Linked DNA regions of Homo sapiens: regions 1, 2, 3 and 4 are each linked to region 5. The links are contacts of gene promoters, found by promoter capture Hi-C in blood cells and fetal thymus (Javierre and others, 2016). All regions are on one chromosome and are shown on one strand. The core of a region is centred on a gene start or on the middle of the fragment in contact, and the rest is flanking DNA. Distances in the headings are between cores, read along the strand shown. Region 1 overlaps PM20D1-AS1 (PM20D1 antisense RNA 1). Region 2 holds the start of SLC26A9-AS1 (SLC26A9 and RAB7B antisense RNA 1). Region 3 overlaps SLC26A9 (solute carrier family 26 member 9). Region 4 overlaps SLC26A9-AS1 (SLC26A9 and RAB7B antisense RNA 1). Region 5 holds the start of AVPR1B (arginine vasopressin receptor 1B).

Evidence for each region. Contacts are between HindIII fragments. The CHiCAGO score rates a contact against its expected background, and 5 or more counts as called.
Region 1: a fragment that was not itself captured here is called in contact with the fragment with the promoter of AVPR1B in region 5 in 5 of 17 cell types (M0 macrophages, M2 macrophages, M1 macrophages and 2 more); the score reaches 6.7 in M0 macrophages.
Region 2: the fragment with the promoter of SLC26A9-AS1 here is called in contact with the fragment with the promoter of AVPR1B in region 5 in 10 of 17 cell types (M0 macrophages, erythroblasts, M2 macrophages and 7 more); the score reaches 11.8 in M0 macrophages.
Region 3: a contact is called between a fragment that was not itself captured here and the fragment with the promoter of AVPR1B in region 5, in 8 of 17 cell types (M0 macrophages, endothelial precursors, M1 macrophages and 5 more). The highest score is 18.1, in M0 macrophages.
Region 4: a contact is called between a fragment that was not itself captured here and the fragment with the promoter of AVPR1B in region 5, in 8 of 17 cell types (erythroblasts, M0 macrophages, M2 macrophages and 5 more). The highest score is 8.4, in erythroblasts.

Annotation. Positions count from the first base shown.
Region 1 is chr1:205,876,838-205,879,537 of GRCh38, forward strand. All of the region lies in intron 1 of PM20D1-AS1 (PM20D1 antisense RNA 1), which reads left to right. Among named protein-coding and RNA genes, the nearest start is that of PM20D1-AS1, 16 kb to the left of the region's middle. The HindIII fragment of the contact is 1,334 bases long and covers 755-2,088 here.
Region 2 is chr1:205,933,662-205,936,361 of GRCh38, forward strand. It overlaps SLC26A9-AS1 (SLC26A9 and RAB7B antisense RNA 1), which reads left to right and starts at 1,252. Exons shown (of 4, transcript NR_110984.1): 1 at 1,252-1,292; 2 at 1,947-2,106. It overlaps SLC26A9 (solute carrier family 26 member 9), which reads right to left. Exons shown (of 21, transcript NM_052934.4): 2 at 2,035-2,177. The coding sequence starts at 2,159. The HindIII fragment of the contact is 1,326 bases long and covers 850-2,175 here.
Region 3 is chr1:205,913,034-205,915,733 of GRCh38, forward strand. It overlaps SLC26A9 (solute carrier family 26 member 9), which reads right to left. Exons shown (of 21, transcript NM_052934.4): 21 at 19-2,371. The coding sequence ends at 2,324. Among named protein-coding and RNA genes, the nearest start is that of SLC26A9-AS1, 21 kb to the right of the region's middle. The HindIII fragment of the contact is 1,001 bases long and covers 922-1,922 here.
Region 4 is chr1:205,951,833-205,954,532 of GRCh38, forward strand. The region is part of intron 2 of SLC26A9-AS1 (SLC26A9 and RAB7B antisense RNA 1); the gene reads left to right. Among named protein-coding and RNA genes, the nearest start is that of SLC26A9, 9.7 kb to the left of the region's middle. The HindIII fragment of the contact is 735 bases long and covers 1,008-1,742 here.
Region 5 is chr1:206,116,121-206,118,820 of GRCh38, forward strand. It overlaps AVPR1B (arginine vasopressin receptor 1B), which reads right to left and starts at 1,268. Exons shown (of 2, transcript NM_000707.5): 1 at 1-1,268. The coding sequence starts at 770. It overlaps AVPR1B-DT (AVPR1B divergent transcript), which reads left to right and starts at 1,663. Exons shown (of 3, transcript NR_186693.1): 1 at 1,663-1,705; 2 at 1,950-2,220. RefSeq lists a silencer at 2,088-2,382. The HindIII fragment of the contact is 5,056 bases long and covers 1-2,700 here.

The DNA.
Region 1 (2,700 bases), core at 172-2,671, 240 kb before region 5:
AGGCTGGAGTGCAGTGGCAGGATCATAGCTCACTGTAACCTCAAACTCCTGTGCTCAAGTGATCCTCCTGTCTCAGCCTCCTGAGTAGCTGGGACTACAGGTGCGCACCACCATGCCTGGCTAATTTTTTAAATTTTTGTGGGGACAGGGTCTCAGTATATTTCTCAGACTGGTCTCAAACTCCTGACCTCAAGTAATCCTCCTGCCTTGGCATCCCAAAATGCTGGGATTACAGATGTGAGCCACCATGCCCAGTCTGTATGTCTTCTTTTGAGAAATATGTATTCATGTCATTTGCCCACTTTTAAATGAGATTATTTGTTTTTTTATTATTGTTGAGTTGTTTGATATTCCTGTATATTCTGGCTATTAGTCCCTTGTCAGATGAATAGTTTGCAAATATTTTCTCCCATTCAGTAAGTTGTCTCTTCACTCTGTTGATTGTTTCCTTTGATGTGTAGAAGCTTTTTAGTTCAATATAGTCCCATTTGTCTATTTTTGTTATAGTTTCTGTGCTTTTGAGGTCTTAGCCATAAAATCTTTGCCTAGACTCATGTCTTAAAATATTTTCTCTATGTTTTTTCCTAGCAGTTTTATAGTTTCGGGTCTTATGTTTACAGTTTTAATCCATCTTCAGTGATTTTTGTGTATGGGGAGAGAAAAGGGTCCAGTTTCATTCTTCTGGATACAGATATCCAATTTTCCCAACATCATTTATTGAAGAGGGTATCTTTCCCCCAGTGTATGTTCTTGAAGCTTTTATTGAAAATCAGTTAGCTGTGAATGTGTGGATTTATTTCTGGACTGTCTATTCTGTTCCATTGGTCTATGTGTCTGTTTTTATACCAGTGCCTCAACCTCCCAAGTAGCTGGGATTACAAATGCCTGCCATTATGCCCGGCACATTTTTTTTTTTTTTTGTATTTTTAGTAAAGATGGGGTTTTGCCATGTTGGCCAGGCTTGTCTTGAACTCTTCACCTCAAGTGATCTGCCCACCTCAGCCTCCCAAAGTGCTGGGATTACAGGCGTGAGCCACCACACCCAGCCCTTTTTACTCTTTTTGACTTAATTTTATCTGATATAAGTATAGCTACTTCTGCTTGCTTTTGGTTTCCATTTGCATGGAATATCTTTTTCCATTCCTTTGAGTGTAGATGTTTCTTTCTTGTAGGCACTATTTTGTTGGATTTTGTTTCTTTATCCATTCAGCCAGTCTATATTTTTTAAGTGGAAAATTTAATTCATTCACATTCAAGGCTATTATTGATATGGAGGTTTTATTACTGTCATATTGTTAATTATTTTCTGGTTGTTTTGTATATTCTTTGTTCTTTTCTTCCCTCTTGTTGATAGTAATTGTGGTTTGGTGGTTTACTGTAGTGGTACCACTTAAGTCCTATCTCTTCCTCATTTATGTATTTGGTTTACCAGTGAGTTTTATACTTTTGTGTGTTTTTATTATGGTAAATGTCCTTTCACTTCCAAGTTCAGGACTCCCTTGGACATTTCTTGTAGGGCTGGTCTTGTGGTGTGTTCCCTCAGAATTTACTTGTCTGGGAAAAACTGTTTCTCCTTCATTTATGAATTTTGCTGGATGTAGTGTCCTTGGGTGGCAGGTTTTTTCTCCCAGCACTTTCAATATGTTATCCCATTCTCTCCTGGCCTGCAAGGTTTTGATATGGGTTTCTTTATAGGTGACTAGTTGCTTTTCTCTTACTGTTTTTAGTATTCTATACTTTGCTTTGACTTTAGACAGTTTGATTACAATATGCCATGGAGAAGATCTTTTTCCATTATATTTGTTAGGGAATCTTTGGGCCTCCTCCATCTGGATATCTAGATCTCTTGCTAGATTTGGGAAGTTTTCAACTAATATTTTGTTAAATAAGTTTTCTAACCCTTTGTTTTCTCTTCACTCTCAGGGACAGTGGTAATTTGAATATTTGTTCACTTTATGTTGTACCAAAGGTTACAAAAGCTCTGCTTATTCTTTCTAATTTTTTCTTTATTTTAATCTGCCTGGATTAGTTCAAAAGACTTGTCTTCAAGTTCTGAAATTCTTTTTTCTGTTTGATCTAGACTATTGAAGCTTTCAAATGTATTTTGTATTTAATTCAATGAATTATTCAGTTCCAGAATAAAAAAAAAACTATCTCTTCAGTAAAGTTCTCATTCATATCCTGAATTGTTTTTTTATTTCTGTGTATTGTTTTTCAGAATTATCTCACATCTCTCTGAGCTCTCTTAAACTCTGTATTTTGAATTATTTATCTGGGATTTCATAATTTCTTTTATGGGATCTGCTGTTGGAGATTTATTGTGTTCCTTTGGAAGTATCAGATTCCTTTACTTTTTCTTTTTTTTATGTAAAAACAAACAGTCCAAGAAAACATTTAGATTCCTTTACTTTTTCATGTTTCCTGTGCCTTTACATTGACATCTGTGCACCTAGTGTAACAGTTGCTTATTCCAATTTTTTGTATTTGCTTTCATAGAGGAGTATTTATTCAGGATGTATATGTGTTTTCGGCGGGTAGGGCACTTTGGCTTTGATTTTGGGTGAGTGCACTGGTATAATCTTTCTATGGTTTTTTTCAGTTGTAAATACAATCAGTGGTATCTGTGATTTCCTCAGTGACTTAGGGTGCAGTTATTAGTGGAGGCTGTGGTGAAGTTTTTGCTAGGGACTAGGATGCCAG
Region 2 (2,700 bases), core at 2-2,501, 180 kb before region 5:
GCCTGCTGCCATTTTTCTTAGAACTTCCTTGAAAAGGAAGGCTCTATTGTTCCTGCAGGGTGCACTCTGCTGACTCACTATCCTTTATGTGTGGTAACTCCAATACCGGAGTTCTTTCTCCTGTTAATTCACTGGGCAGCAGAGGAGGGAAGAATTCATTGGTCAACGCAGGGTGGGGAGAGTTGATCCCTTCCCTGTTTGTTGAACACCTCAAGGTCCTTTCATAGAAACTCAGGAGCGGTAGGAACAAGGGCTTACAAACTCAAGGGTGACAGCCGGTGGATTGATGACTGGAAGTGGGTGAGGGGCATTTGCTTTCCTTCTCCCAGTTGAGGGAACTCAAATACTTAGGGCCCATTTGGTGACTCACTGGCCTGCTCTGATGAGGCTTCCTTTCCTGCCCAGCACCAATTCCTGCTCTTTGCTCTTGCTCAACAATAGTTTCCCTGACACTCGGTCCCCTGGATGTCACCCAAGACTGAAACCAACAAAGACAATGCTTTGTACCTTGGAAAGTCTGGGCAGATTTTCTCTTCCAACTAACACTCCAAGAAAAAGCATCATCATCAATATCTTACCCCCTGTCCTTTCTGGGGCTCATGGGTGCCTCTGCCATCCCTGGGATGCTGGAAGGGGAGGTGGACGGGGGATAAATTGCTTAATGCAACTCTAAAGCCTTGCTTGAAGAGAGAACCAGCCCTGCAGGGGCTCCATCAGGTCTGTTTGTGGCAGAGAAAGCCGGACTTATGAATAGAGAGCTGGCTAGGGAAAGAAAAACAACTCATTTGAGGGCTAGTCCATGCCCAACCTTACTTGCAAGTCTGCTGTATGTTGGGCAAAGCAATCTGAAGCTTGAAAGAAGAACTGGAAACAGAGGCTGAGAGGGATTAGCTTTCTAGACATTCATTCATTCATTCATTCATGAAACAAATATTTATTGGTGCACCTTCTCTATGCCAGGCACTGTTCAAGGCTCTCATGCCAGTATCATAGGAATTGTTAGTTTGCTATATCCCTTTACAGCTTTCATTATCCTAATCTTTTAGGACAATAGCAGATCTTCTCATCCTCAGACTTTGTGCCCTAAAGTCTTGGGCACAAAGACTGGCAGAGACCACCTGTCTGAGGAGCACAGCTGTGAGGACAGACTGTAACTGGGCAGAAATGGAGCCTCCCAAGAGAAACAGGGCTGGGCTGGGGCTTTTAGTACAAACTCAAGTGGGTGATTCCCCCGGCCTGAACCAGTTCCACCTGCGTCTCCACTTCAGCCATTGCCAGTGACCTCAATCCAGGTAACTGAATCAGCCGTTTCCCCAAGGGAGTGAGGGAGAGTGAGTTGGCCTATAGCTGGGCCAGAGGAGGTCTGCCAGGAGTCTGGGAATGGGGAGGGTGACACCCGCAGCCCCAGCCTCCTGGGGTGTGGGTATGGATCACCTTGTGTAGCGCCTACTTAGGGACAAGGTTTCATACCCACCATCGCATTTCCAGGGAGATGAGAGTGGAAAGACCCTGGGCGCTGGTAGGACTACACCCTGGTAGGTCCCCTCAGGAAAGTTCAGAAATTTAGGGCCTCCTTTTGGCATTCTCTGGACCAAGTGGAGGAAGGAACATCCGGGAGGGAAAGGACAAAGAACCTGGGGTGATGGTAACTTCAGGTATTTTTTGTAAGGAGGGAACAGGGCATGGAGTAAGGGCTCTGATGCTCCCCACCCCTCCATAACGTAGATGCTCATCTACCATGCCTTAACAAACCCAGAGAGACCCGGGTGAATTGAGAATATGGGAGATGCCATGCAGGGGTTTGGGAATGCCATATAACCCTTCTGGATGGTTCTTGCTCCTGCTCCCCATCCTCCCTGGGGGTCTCAGTACAGATGAGGTTGTAGGATCTTAAATTCATCATTCAGAACCTCACTTCCCCAGGGCTTCCCTTAACCCCATCTTAGGGATACCAGTGCAGAAGCCGTGTCCTGGTGCAGAAAGGATTTTGGTAGGGAGCAGAGGAGGCAGAAGTCTGGGCTCTGGACCAGTTACCTGAAGGCATTGCGAAGTTTCTCTCCCACTGGGTATGTCCGGTCCTTCTTCTCAAACTCATCGTCGAAGAGGGTAAGGGAGTATGCGGCTCTGTCTACCACGTAGCGGGGCCTGGGCTGGCTCATATCTGGGGCATTTACAAGCTTTGGGAGAAGCAGAGGAGGGGAGGGTGAGGGAACATCCCTCCCTAGTGCCAGCCCAGGCCTTCTCTCTCTGGTCCTTGCAGTAGCAGAGTTTTATTCTGGCCTTCCCCGCCCCGATAAAGCAAGGTGCCTCCCTTCCCTCTGTCAAGTTTTTCCGTCAGACTCCCTGCTCGCAGTGGCCTTCCTTCCCAGGCACTGATGATGCATAGACTCACCCTGGCTGTTTTGCTTGGCGCTCAGCACGTGGCTGGCACTCCACACCTGTGGCGTCACCATCACCCCCACTGAGCACCAGGCAAAGGGGAATCACGAGGGCAGGAGGCCCCACTTGATTCAGCAGGTGGACCCTCCCCTCCCCTGACCCCTGGTGTCCCCACAAGCCATACTCCCTTCCCAGACCTCAGTTTCCCTGGCAGAAAGGCTCCTACCATTCAGCCAGTCAGCTTGGAAGAAACAGAAAACAGCTTGCCTAGAGGCAGGGGGATAGCTGAGATGACCTCAAGAGGACCCTTCTTGGATAAGA
Region 3 (2,700 bases), core at 172-2,671, 200 kb before region 5:
CCCAAACATGTGCATTTGTTCACAATTCAAATCCAGTTTATTACCAAAATGAACAAAAGGAGAATGAGGCTTAAATTAAATAAATTATGCAAATATCTCAAGAGATAAGGTTCCCAGTCCTCCCTGGGAATTATATTATCACAGGTCAGTATCACTAAGAACATTCAAAAGCATTGAAATTCTGGATTATTTCACTACTTTGCCTCCATCTTTCCTGCTTCAACCAGGTCCAGAAGAGTGTTCTTTTCCAAATATTCCAGCAGAGATGTTTTCTTCAATGTCTTCCCTCTGCCTCATGTGTTTCCAATCTTACCTCCACAGCGGGCTCTGCAACCCTCAGACATGTGGCAGATCTCTCCCTGAGCCTCAACTCCAGGTCACTGGGTCAACAATCTCCTTCAGTTCTGAGGCTGGTCTGGGGGTTAATGATTACTTGGGGGTTAAGGATCACTTCATCAAGTCCTCAGGGGATCTAGATACTTGGTTCAAAGGGGACTCTGACTTGGAAATTCCTGAGGCTCTGTGACCTTCTCCCACCTCCTGGGCCTGAGCTGGACTTGGAAGGAGGTGGAGTAGGGGAGAGTGAGTTGTCATTGGCTAAGGCTCTTGTCCTCCTGGAATTTGGCACTTCGGGTGCTGGGCACGGTGAATCCCAGATAACATTGTCCTTCGCCTTCCAAGTTTTGAGTTCCATTGGCAGCCAGATGGCATAATGAATTCACAGAAAAGCAATGCTCCTGGGCCAAGAATGTGTTGGCTCTTGGCCAGCACCCCCTCCTTTAACTCTAAGAAGACTTGTTAGCTGACCAGCTCACTCAACACACAGACACACAACGCAGGTCTGGCTGAAGTTAGAAATGGGGATGTTTTCCTAGGCTGGGCCAGCCCAACCTGTTAGGGAAGGGGTTGTTAAGCTGAAGAAGCTTGAGAAAAGCAGTGATGAGAGGCCAGAAGATTTTCTGTGCATTTCCACTGAAATTTTACAAAACACTTACACATGGAACCTATTTATTTTCAAGTCAACAGTAGGGTTCCTCTCAATACCTCCTTGTACATATGGAAAACTTAACCCCTATTTTCATCTTCATAGGAGAAGATGGCCTGAGGTCCTAAGGGTGTTAAAGAGTCTTCCTGTGCAGGAAGACCCAATCTGGATCAGCCCCTTTCCACATCTGCATGCAGTTAGGGGATGTAGCGGATCCCTGGAGGACTTCCACCTTTGCCTACAGAAGGACCCCATTGTGTCTCTGGGCCACAGGCTGATAAGGAAGAGTTAACATGATTGGCTCTTTGCCAGGTAAAGAAGGATAAGGCAGATTTACCAAAGGGAGGCATTTCCCTGATGGGCCCTGGGGTCAAGGGGGACTGTCTGGGCCCAGGTCCCATCCGTTTTCCCTGTGTTGGTACTAGCACCCTCTTCCCCTCTGAGTCTCTGGGTGCAAAGAGGAATTCCCAAAAGTTTTGTGCAGAATAACTGGTATCTATTACTAGGATGCCAGATGATTCTGCCAGCTACCCATCCCCCTCTTTGGGGTTTCTAGCCAGCCTCCAGGGGAAGGGAGCAGCCTCTGAGGGCAGTGATGTTTCAGGAGGCTGAGGCAGAACCTTAGTGGGCTGTCCCCGGGGAGGTAGCTCTGGTGGTCTCGACGGTCCTGGCCACTGTCCAGGCTAGAGTCTGATGTGCTTGCTGACAGCAGTGGTGGTTTGGGCAGCCTTGGGGATGATGGAGGGGGGGCGCATAGTTACCAAGGCCTAGACTCCTGGGTGTGGAGAGCACATGGTCCCTGGGTGCAGAGCTGCCAGAGACAGAGTTGAGGCAGCTGGGGAAGGCAAGCCAGAGTCCTAACCAAGTTTATCCCTATGTCCGTGACAGCCTGACACCATCTGACACCGAGCCGTGTGGGCTCTGGGACACTTTTTGAAGCTTGTACAGCAGGCCAGCACAGTTGTACTTGTCCTTCTGTTTTTGGCTCACTCGTAAAAGCTGGAAGTCAAGGTGTCCTTCAGCTGCCAAGGACAGGGCAGAGGTGGGTGGGGTGGAGTGAGCAGGAGGCTTGTCCATTGCGGCCAGGGCCTGACGGGTGAAGAGTGGGCTCACCAGACTCTCACTCCTGTAAGGGTAGCACCCCCCTGCTGCTGAGAGGCTCTCTCTGGAGATGCGGGGAGGGAAGGAAGGGAGGAGAGAGGGGGAGAGGAGAGAGGAACCCAAGCTCTGGGGGATGCACTTTCCTCCGCCCGACACCCCCTGTGACCCCAGGCTCATCCTTTATGGAAGTCCCAAGTGCCAGGCACTCTGTAGGCAGCATGAGGACTGGCTGAGCCCTCACAGGGCGGTCAGGGTCTCTGCGTGAAACATGCTCCCGAACATCTCCTGCAGGAACCACAGGAAGGAAGTGGGAGGGGAAGAGAGAGGTTAGACCAGTTGGGGTCACAGTGGCTGCAACCAAGAGGTGACCCTAGGAACCCCTGGCCAGAACAAAGCACCTGTGTGTGTGTGTGTGTGTGTGTGTGTGTGCGAGAGTGTGTGTGAACAGGGGAGAGGCAGGGTCAGCCTAGGAGGTGAACCAGTCCAGCGTGGCAGGAGCAGGTGCTGAAATCTACATGTGAATCACCTCCTGTGTGCTGTGTGACCTTCCACGTGTCCCTCGCCCCCTAATAGCTTCACTTTCCTCATTGGGTAAAATGAGGGTTGGCAGTAGA
Region 4 (2,700 bases), core at 125-2,624, 160 kb before region 5:
AATGAGGCCGGCCACTTACAGGTCTGGGTCTTGAGTTGTTGGGCATGCTTCCTGCATGCCCTCTCCTCTTCCTGCCAGCTGGAGCCTAGATGTGGTGGGGACCCAGATTTCACTATGCATGATAACAATGGCCTGGCAAGTGGGAAAGCAACAGGGGGAAGGAACCTGGGCCTGTGAATGACCTCAGGAAGCTGAGAATGCCAGCAGCCAGGACTGCTCACTTTGAGACTCACTAGTGTCCCAAGAAGAGAAAAACTCCTATATTCTGTAATCTACTGTATTGAGGTTCTCTTTATAATGGGACATTAGTCTTTAACACACACATGGGTCCTGAGTCTCATTAAGTCCCTGGTGAGAACAGCTCTTTCTGCTTCTGCTGTAGTCCTGCACCGTCCCCCCAACCCCCTCTCTAAGGGCTGGATGGAACCCAAGGGCCTAGCTGGGGAAAGAGGTCATAGAAGCCCATTTCCTGAGTTCTTCTCTGCACCAAGGGATTTGATCACAGGGACTCTTCCTTTCCTGTAAATAGAGGTCTGGAGGACCTTTGATTCACTAGCTCATCAGACCTACCCAGACTCTGGATTCTAGTATAGGGTCTTCCAGGTCACCTAGCCCTGTGCATCTTTAACAATGGAAGCTTGGTAATTAATGCCCCAGCATAAGTTAAGCCTCATTGGATGAGGGCATAGTCTTCCTGCTTGGCTCACCTCTGTCTCCTGCTTAGAGTGAGAAGAGAAAGCAAGCATTGGAGGTCTTTTGGATCAGGAAAGAACCCTGTGGGTTTAGTAACTTCCAGGCCCCTCTTATTGTCTCTTATAGTAAGCAGGTGATAGATGAAGTTGTGCTACTAATCGAGGTTAAGAAAAAATAGTGCTTTAATAGTTCCTTGCATTTGTAGGGCACTTAGAGTTTATAGAGTGCTTTAGTATGCATTATCTGAAGCTATTTATCCCCATTTTGCATATGTGGAGACTGAGGATCCGTTACCCCCACCTAGGATATGCCCAAGCTTGGGTTAGCTCTCAGGGTTCCTGACTTCTAGCCTTGTGCTCTTATTTCTATACACTGCCAGGCTGAAAAATGATGGTTTGTGACTTACACTCAGGAAGTTGTGAACATTGAGGATGGCTTCGAGAAGAGGGAATTGTGTTGACTTTGGGGGAGACATTTCACCAACTGAGGTCTCAGTTTCTTCTTCTGTAAATGTGAAAGACATGCCGGCCTCTCCCAGACCAAGTAGAGAGTTTGTTGTTGTCACATACCTGGTTCCTATTCCAATTCCTGCCCTTACTCTAAGACTGTAAGGTAAATTGTTCTGTGGGCTTAGATTTGTCTGAGGAAGTTGGGGTTTGGGGAGGAAGAGGTGTCCTGGGGCTGCTGCTTCCAGATGGATTAACCCAAGGTGAACCACACTAGGCTGTCCTCTGGGTGGAGAAGTGTCATCTGAGACAAGTCCTTAGCCCAGGGAGACTGGGGTGGGGGTGGGGTGGGGACTTGCTCTTTCACCTCAAGTAGCCCAGCCACACCAGGTGCCTGGGTGGAGTGTAGGATAAAGGGCCAGTAGGGAAGAAAGGTTGGTTTGACCCTAGTGCACCTGATTTTGCTGCCCCACCAATTACACAAACACAGCCCTGCACACCTGACATGAGCACACCCAGATCAAGAACCACAGACCCCAAGCCCCAGGCCCCTCAGCTTCTATAGAAAAGCAGCATGCAGGATTCAGGTTAGACACAAAGGAAAGCTTCCCAGGGTATGGGTATTAGATCAGAGACTGGATGGTGTGGAATATTCTGAAGGGTGTATGATAGTTTCTATAAACATAAAAAAAATGCTTATCCTCTGGTGAAGGGGGTGGGGGTGGGGCTGGTAGAGACAGTTCAAGTGGACTTGCCTAGAAGTAGCTGGATGAATAATGTGTAAAACCTTACTGGTGAAAGCCTTCAAGCCCAGGCAGAAAGAAAAGCAATGAAAGAATGAAGCAAGAGGCACATAGGAAATATACCCCTTGCTTATGTCTATGCCTGGGAGTGGGAGAGAAAGAGCATTCTTGGCTTTGAATACAGAGAAGGGGGGCTACTTGCCTGCTGGGCAAGTGGTTACCTGGGAAGCAGGACCCTTTGGCTCTCAGAACAGTGAAGTGGTGGGGGGTCTGTGAGATGCAGATTTCCATGTGTCTGGCGGTCCAGTGACATCTACAGCAGTTATTGGGACTGCCCAAGCAAATGAACACAGGGGATAGTGTGAGAAGGAAGCCAGGGAGGAGAGCTACAGAACAGCTGCTGGCCTCTGCTCCACCAAAGCAAACAAACCAAGGCCTTGGGAGAGGAGCTGAGAGGGTCCTACGGAGGTAGGATGATTCTCTGCCCCTAATTCTTCCTATCTCCACATTTTATCATGAAAAATTTTTCTCCAACATATAGAAAAGTTGAAAGACTTCTATGATGAACATCGTATACCCACCACTTAGAGTCTTCCCTTAACATTTTGTTCTGTGTTGCAGAACACATATCTACCCAACTACCCATTCCTCTATCCATCCATCGATCCCTTGTATTTTTGGAAGCATTTCAAAGCACGGTGCAGACATCAGTAGCCATTTAGGCCAATACTTCAGCATCATATCATTAACAAAGTTCAATATTTGTCACAGTTATTTTTTTCTATGGAGATAAGTTTTACATACAAGGAAATGCACAA
Region 5 (2,700 bases), core at 18-2,517:
GCAGCTAAGGTGGAAGGTGAGGGCCTGTCCCAAGTCCTCCAGCCCCCTCCTCCCACCCGCCAGGCCTGTGTCTTGACTTTTAGGTTTTTACAGATCTCATGGCAGATGAGGCTGTAGCAGGCCGTGAGCATGGTCACCGGCAGAACGAAGATAGCCAGGGTGGTCCAGGTGAGGTAGGCCCGTGGCCCCCAAGGGAAGCCGAAGTCTGCCCAGCAGTCCAGCACCCCTGAGCCCTGGATCACCTCCCGCAGGGAAAAAATGAAGACTTGAGGGAGGCTGAAGATGGCGGCCAGCAGCCAGGGAGCAGCGATGAGCAGGTAGGTGGACTGGCCTGGCTGCTGGAGGCTGCGCAGGGGGTGACAGACAGCCAGGTAGCGGTCCAGCGTCATGGCCAGCAGCATGTAGGTGGAGGCAAACATGCTGAGCACCTGCAGGTACTTGACGGCCCTGCACAGGAGGTCGGGGCCCTGGAAGCGGTAGGTGATGTCCCACAGCAGCTGTGGCAGCACCTGGAAGAGCGCCACGGCCAGGTCTGTCAGGGCTAAGTGCAGCACGAACAGGTGCATGCGGGAGCGCTTGCGGCCCAGCTGGCCCAGGGTCAGCAGCACAGCCAGGTTGCCCCCGGTCGCCAGCACCAGGACAGTGGCCAGGACTCCGATCTCCACCTTGGCCAGCTCCTCATCCCGGCCCAGCCAGGGTGTTGTGGCATTGGGGGCAGAGAGGGTGCCCCGAGGGGTGGGGTTGGCATCCCACAGAGGCCCAGAATCCATGAGCAAGGTTTGCTGGGAGGGAAGGATGAAGGGAGGGTGTGGATGCAAGTGGAGAGGTTTGATGGATAAAATGGAGTGGCAGGGGAGGTGGAGAGAAAGGAGAAGCGTTGAGAATGACAGGGAGAAGGCTTGCAAATAGGCGGAAATCGTTCAGAGGACTGGGATAGAGAGGAGGAGGGAGGATGAGATTCGGAAGGAGAAAATGTGACTGGGATCGACCCAGGAGAGGGAGAAGGAGGGGTCAGGAAGATGGGGAATCAGGACGGGAAGAATGGGGGACGCTGTGCAGAGTGAGGCTTCTGGGAGGGAAAGAAGGCTGGGGAGGGGCTACCACCCTCCAATCCGCCTCAAATTCTCTTTCTCCAAACTTTTCTGGAAGCCAAGAGCGGAAGCCCTTCAGCCTGCTTGGAGGCGCGGTCCGGGGCAGTCGGTGTCGCGCTCAGGGCAGGAAGCCCCAGCCAAGCCCGCTCGCTCTGCCTGGTGAGCAGCGGCTGGAGCGCAGCGGCGCGGCTCGGGCGGGTTTTATGGGCTCCCAGGCCGAGCCCGGCGGCCTGCGGCTCGCCAGTTGGCTCCTGCAGAGGAGGGAGGAGTGAGGTTCGCAGGCACCCACCCGGCGGGATGACCGAGAGGCCGGCTGCTGGAGGGAGGGGGGGCAGAGGGGGTAGCGGACGAGGGACAGGGAGCGAGACAAGCAGGCGACGCAGGCCAGCGCCCAGCAGCCGGCAGGACACACCGACCCGCAGGCAGGCAGATAAGCTCCTCTGCGCACTCACCCTGGAACTCTCGGGCCGTCTCTCCACAGGTGCATCCCCGGGGGATGGTGAGAGGCAGTCACTCCTCCCACCTACGCGGGGGCACTTCGGCTGGCGGCTGTTGGCGCGCCCTCTGCCAGCCGGCTAGCCGGTGCAGGATCCACAATCTTCAAGGGTGGCCAGGTGAGCGAGGCGGCATCCCTGATTGCCAGTCACCTGGGAGTGACGTCTGACCGCAGACCCTGTTGAGGGACTGCGAGGCATAGGGAAAGGAAGAAAAAGTGAGGGTATATGTGGGGGTGGGGAGACGAAGGAGCTAGACCTGAGAGCCCTGGTGCTTGATCGGTGGGAACAGCCGGAGAAATTCCCGGTATTTGCGTCCCCAAGGGACATCTTAACTTCTGGCCTATGTGCTTTTCGTGCTTAGGTGCTTCCAAGATCCTAAACGCAGTTAACCACTCGGCGAGGTAGAAAACAGGCCCAGAGAAGTTCAAGAACTTGCTGTAGAAGATTACTGAACGAGTAAGCAGCAGAGGCCGGTCTAGAACCAGCCCCGTGTGCCCTTCTGACAGCGCAGCAGCAGCACTTAACACCTAACCGGCTTGGCTAAATTCTATGTGAGAGGCACTGGTGCTGACGGTAAAAATAAAAACAAAACACCATCCAGTCCAGAGGCAGCTTACAGCTCAATAGAGAAGGTATTGTGTGGTGTTGGCTGTGAAATTCACTTAATCTTCAGTATGCAAGATGGACTATTGGGACTCTCCCTAGAGCAGATTAGAAGTTAGGAGTGACAGACTGGGCGCGATGGCTCACGTCTGTAATCCCAGCACTTTGGGAGGCCGAGGCGGGCAGATCACGAGGTCAGGAGATCGAGACCATCCTGGCTAACACGGTGAAACCCCATCTCTACTAAAAATACAAAAAATTAGCCGGGCGTGGTGGCGGGCGCCTGTGGTCCCAGCTACTGGGGAGGCTGAGGCAGGAGAATGGCGTGAACCCGGGAGGCAGGGCTTGCAGTGAGCCGAGAACACACCACTGCACTCCAGCCTGGGCGACAGAGTGAAACTCTGTCTCAAAAACAAACAAACAAACAAACAAACAAACAAACAAACAAAATTTAGGAGTGACAATAGTAGGGTCCCAGACTCTCAGAAAGGGCAGAGTCTGTGACAGGA